Regions from separate parts of the Homo sapiens genome. Here region 2 is linked to region 1. Evidence: promoter capture Hi-C in human tissues and cell types (Jung and others, 2019). All regions are on one chromosome and are shown on one strand. The core of a region is centred on a gene start or on the middle of the fragment in contact, and the rest is flanking DNA. Distances in the headings are between cores, read along the strand shown.

The links. Contacts are between HindIII fragments. The study calls those that stand out against the background at their distance.
Region 2: a contact is called between a fragment that was not itself captured here and the fragment with the promoter of HOXA1 in region 1, in 1 of the 25 tissues and cell types used here (dorsolateral prefrontal cortex).

The regions. Positions count from the first base shown.
Region 1 is chr7:27,094,558-27,097,472 of GRCh38, reverse strand. HOXA1 (homeobox A1) reads left to right here and starts at 1,473. Exons shown (of 2, transcript NM_005522.5): 1 at 1,473-2,212; 2 at 2,678-2,915. The coding sequence starts at 1,561. HOTAIRM1 (HOXA transcript antisense RNA, myeloid-specific 1) reads right to left here and starts at 1,379. Exons shown (of 2, transcript NR_038367.1): 1 at 1,085-1,379. RefSeq lists enhancers at 511-1,083, 1,209-1,503, 2,385-2,885, 2,886-2,915 and a silencer at 987-1,156. The HindIII fragment of the contact is 6,318 bases long and covers 1-2,915 here.
Region 2 is chr7:25,977,452-25,980,151 of GRCh38, reverse strand. The region is part of intron 6 of LOC105375199 (a long non-coding RNA gene); the gene reads left to right. Among named protein-coding and RNA genes, the nearest start is that of MIR148A, 29 kb to the right of the region's middle. The HindIII fragment of the contact is 7,060 bases long and covers 1-2,700 here.

The DNA of each region.
Region 1 (2,915 bases), core at 224-2,723:
CAACAATTTAACGACCTCAGCAGCCTCAGGGAAGTAGGGTGATGAGGAACAGGACCCCTGGCCTGGGATGAGGCTCAGATTTGCATGTGTCTCTCTAGGGAAGGACTTGAAGGTTCTCATAAGCAACTACACAGCCAGTTGGAAAGGGGAGGAGGTGTCGTTGGGGTAAAGTGTCCCGTCCACCATCAGCCATTTGTCCACCGCCCCTCCCACCTGCCAGCCCCCACACCCACTCTAGACGTGCAGCAGAATGAGGAAGGTTATAAAAGGAAGCTCTCTCTCTCTTCTAACATTCCCCTCCAGAAAAAGAGGAACGCAACGAAGGGAGTTCAGCTACTATGTTGGAGCTGTGGACCGGCCCTGTGAGGCCCACGCGGGAGCGCGGAGGCTCCTGGGTCTCAGGGCGCCGGCAGATGGCCTGCAGCGCACCGCCCGGCCCCCGCGCTGGCCACGTCCGCCAGCGTCATCTCTCTCCCCCGCCTCCTACCCCTAAAAATCCGGCGGTCGAGTAGCTCCGCATCCCGGAGGGCTCCCGGTGCAAAACTGAGTGGGAAAGAGAAAGGGGCGGAGAGCGACGAGAGAGGGAAGGTGGGGAAGAAGAGCCCGGCCGCCCCCGGCCTTTTCCGGCGAGCTCTGAGTTTCCAGGGCTCATCCGCCCCTCCAAGTCGAATTACAGAAACTCCTCATTGCCATGCTAATGACGAGAGGGGCTGTGGGGAGAGGGTTTCGAAGACCCTCCTGGAAGAAGGGAAGTTTCTTTTCTTGCCCTCGTCTCCTTCACGCCCACCCGAGTTCCTCCCAGCCAGCCCTCTGCGCTCTTCCCCCTCCATTCCGAGCTTGAAGAGCCGGTGGCCCAGCCTCGCCCTCCACCACGGTTCTATGCGCTCCTCACAGCCCCACGGTCTCCCAGCCCAGCCTCAGAACAGAGGAGGTGGCCTGGGAACCCGGGGCGCGGTGTCAGCCGGATTCCCCGCCTTCCGGCTGGGCGCGCTGCGGGCTGGGCCGGCGTACTTGCGGCCACCCGGCGAGCTCTGGCCCACTGATTCCCGCCCCGAGAGAGCCGGGAGCCCTCTTCCCTTCTCACCTCTCGCCAGTTCATCTTTCATTGAACGGTGGGGAGGGGGCGGGAGCGGGGGACGCCTCCCAGCCCCCACCTCCCGGAGGCCTGGCGGGGCGGGCAGCGGAGTCGGGCGCGCGCAGAACGCAGCTTTTGCTCTTCTTCGCTCCAGCACTCCAAATCGGCCTTTGCAGTCGCCGCAGCAGCTGCCGCCGCCTAGGCTGCCTGGGGGGGCGACTGCGCGTCACCTAGACGGCGGAGCGCCGGGGATTTAAATGCCACTAAAACGGTGATCCATCACTGCGGAAGCCGGCAAACTTTTGCAGGAGGCTCAGCCATTGGCTGACACCGTCACGTGCCCCTCCTCCAGCGTCCTCCGCCCTCCCGCCCCCCCTCTTGCGCACTGTACATTCATATCATTTTTCTTCTCCGGCCCCATGGAGGAAGTGAGAAAGTTGGCACAGTCACGCCGGGCTTCGCAGGACCAGGTCACTCAGTGACAGATGGACAATGCAAGAATGAACTCCTTCCTGGAATACCCCATACTTAGCAGTGGCGACTCGGGGACCTGCTCAGCCCGAGCCTACCCCTCGGACCATAGGATTACAACTTTCCAGTCGTGCGCGGTCAGCGCCAACAGTTGCGGCGGCGACGACCGCTTCCTAGTGGGCAGGGGGGTGCAGATCGGTTCGCCCCACCACCACCACCACCACCACCATCGCCACCCCCAGCCGGCTACCTACCAGACTTCCGGGAACCTGGGGGTGTCCTACTCCCACTCAAGTTGTGGTCCAAGCTATGGCTCACAGAACTTCAGTGCGCCTTACAGCCCCTACGCGTTAAATCAGGAAGCAGACGTAAGTGGTGGGTACCCCCAGTGCGCTCCCGCTGTTTACTCTGGAAATCTCTCATCTCCCATGGTCCAGCATCACCACCACCACCAGGGTTATGCTGGGGGCGCGGTGGGCTCGCCTCAATACATTCACCACTCATATGGACAGGAGCACCAGAGCCTGGCCCTGGCTACGTATAATAACTCCTTGTCCCCTCTCCACGCCAGCCACCAAGAAGCCTGTCGCTCCCCCGCATCGGAGACATCTTCTCCAGCGCAGACTTTTGACTGGATGAAAGTCAAAAGAAACCCTCCCAAAACAGGTCAGTCCTGCTGGTTGGTGGATGCTCCTTGATTATTCTGGAAGGAGCTGGTATGCTTAATTTCCAAGGAAATTAATAATGATCTTTTTTTTAAAAGGCTTTTGTATCAGACTAGTGTTGTAGTGCATGGAGAGGGTGCCCAGAGGTGTTGGGGCAAAGAAGTCTCAGGGATTGGTGTGTTTTCAAGGATTTTATACATTTGGGAAATAGGAAGTATGTGGGGGTGGTTATTGTGACGGTAGTGTTCTGTTAATATCTTGAGGCTCCATTAATCACCGGTCTGACCATGCTAATGGTTTACATCAGGTTAACACTTTACACCTCATCACTCACCCTCCACAGCCCGATTTGTGCTGAGTTCTTGATCTTTTCTTTACCTGAGTGTTGCCATGAAGCGTGTGGGGAATCTCAAGTCGATTTAAAAATTTTTACATTTCCGTCTCATGGCTTCCCACTTTGCCCCAGGGAAAGTTGGAGAGTACGGCTACCTGGGTCAACCCAACGCGGTGCGCACCAACTTCACTACCAAGCAGCTCACGGAACTGGAGAAGGAGTTCCACTTCAACAAGTACCTGACGCGCGCCCGCAGGGTGGAGATCGCTGCATCCCTGCAGCTCAACGAGACCCAAGTGAAGATCTGGTTCCAGAACCGCCGAATGAAGCAAAAGAAACGTGAGAAGGAGGGTCTCTTGCCCATCTCTCC
Region 2 (2,700 bases), core at 25-2,524, 1.1 Mb after region 1:
AATCGGCTTCTAAGCTCATGCAAGTTGTTGGAACAATTCAGCTTCTCGGTACTGCTTGATGGACGGTCCTGGCTTCGTCCTGGCTCTCAGCGGGAGGAGCCCACAGGTCCCTGCCTCCAGGCCCTCTCCATGGGTGGCTCACAATGTGCAAGTTTGCTTCTTCAAGGCTCAGGAGAGAGTCTGTCTCTCTCTGACTCCAGATGGAGTTGCTCATACGCTCTTTCTCTTGCTCTCTTTCTTGCTTACTCTCTCTCTCTTTCCAATGATGGCAGTGACATATAGTCACAGGTTCTTCCCGTCCTGAAGAGGAGGGGCTTATACATGGTGTGACTCATTGGAGGTCACCTTAGGGTGTGTCTGCCACAGTAGGTATGTTGCTTCCTTGGCCTCCCCAACTTACATATAGCAGCTGTGTTCTATTTCTGTCTTTCAGATTCCATGAAATCCACCAGGGAAAGGGTTGGGTGGTGGTGGTGGTGTTGTATGCTCAAGAGACTCAGTGGCCCCACAGGAGAGCATCATTTAAAAAATTAAACTCTAATGATTTTAACTTAATATTCAACTGTGTGAAGCATTCAAATGCAATACTTAGATTGTATTTTTTCAAAAGCAACATTTGATGTTGAAATAACTATACAGGAATTGTAATAATAATAGCTGATATTATTAAGTGCTGACCACATGCCAAGCACCATTCTAATACACTTAGGTTATGGTATCTCATTTCATCCCCACAACTAGCCTATGTGATGGGAACTATTATTATTCCTATTTTACAGATGATGATATTGAGGTATAGAGGGGCCAATAAAAGCCCCACCATAGGTAGCAGTTTGAAGATGGGAGGTTCAAATCTCCAACCCCCGCAGATTACTTGATGGCAAAACCCACATACTGAAATATGAAGGTTGGCTGGCTGCCCTTGGGTAGCTGTTTCTCAAAGGGTTAGGATGAACACACCTAGCATTTGTCTCTGGGATTCTCTTTTCTTCAAACTTTCCTGCTGATTGATCTATTCTTTATGAATGATTAAGTCATTCAAATGACAGAAAGAGGTATAAAACTAACTTACAAGACAAAAGCTGCTCATTCATACTTAGGTATTTTTCATCTGGCATTGGAGAGATTCCAGTGATTCTCTATATTGAAGCATCTTTAGTTTTACTTTATCCAACTTCGACTCTCCTGGCTTGTTTTGCTTGTGTCTACTCAAGTTTGGCAATATTTGAGAGTACTGTCAGCAGTCTCGCTCAGTAGTTTAAATGTCTGCGAATATAGAATAATATTTTATTTTATAAAAACGATGGCAATAAGCAAGAACCGAAAGTTATAATTTCCACAAAAATGTTTGCAACCACAGAATTTTTTGAGAGTATTTTTGTATTTGTGAAGTGTATGATAGTGATCATACTAGTGACCTAAGATTCATTGATCCTCAGAAGATCCGTGTCATAAAGTTGGCCACCTCCCTGCTGGCTGACATCCCCGGACATCTGTGCTTTGACTCAGATCCTAGTTTGTCATCCATTTTTGGTGTGAAATCTCAATGAGAAAGAGCCAACCATTAAAATTGTATGTCAAATTCTAGTATTTTTTATTACATACATACCGTTTCTCTGGGTAACATTTTCTGATTCACAAAATTTGAGTAATGGGCTTGTTAGTCTCTTACATATATGGTTATAATGAATTAATTCAGGATATGCTTACAGACCTGAAAGTTTTGCAAGACAAAAGCAACAAAGTTTTTGTTTTTCTGTAAATAATGACTGGAGACAATATATTTTCAAATTAGTAAAATGTCATTTCAGGTGCTGCAAGTTTTCCATGATCATTTATACATCTGCTAATTAAGCCTCAGCTACATAATATATTTTTTAAAAGAAGAAATTAAAATTCTTATGGTATTTATACACCAGCAAAAAAAAAAGAAAAACCTGCTTCTTGGTGCTGAGAGACACAGGTTTTATTACTAGGCATTTGGTAATGCCTAAAAATTAATCTCACTATTGCCTTTATTACCCAATCAAAATTGTATCATCCTCCCTTTTTCTTTCCCTGCCCACTTATCATTTCAAGGAGAAGGAAAATAGAAAATAGTTTGCAGTTGTCAGCTGCCATGTTCTTTAAGTCCAAGTCCGTGGTCCGAGCCTGCCCATCTGACACTGGCTTCTCTCTTCTCCCACCTCCTCTCCCTATTCTTTTTTTCCCCTTTCTGGATTCTTGAAGATTTAAAGGGTAGAATAGTTTCTCGGATTCTAAAATTGCATCCTGTGGTAAGAAAAAATAATTAATCTTTTATGCAGCATATTGTTAAGAGAAGTACTTACTTTTCTTTAAAAAGTTTACCATAAACAGGCCGGGCATGGTGGCTCATGCCTGTAATCCCAGCACTTTGGGAGGCTGAGGCGGGCAGATCATGAGGTCAGGAGATCGAGACCATCCTGGTTAGCATGGTGAAACCCCGTGTCTACTAAAAATACAAAAAAATTAGCCAGGCGCGGTGGCAGGCACCTGTAGTTCGAGCTACTTGGGAGGCTGAGGCAGGAGAATGGCGTGAACCCAGGAGGCAGAGCTTGCAGTGAGCAGAGATAGGGCCATTGCACTCCAGCCTGGGTGACAGAGCAAGACTCTGTCTAAAAAAAAAAAAAAAAGTTTACCATAAACCAAATCAAATCTTTGTAAATTTGGGAGATGAAA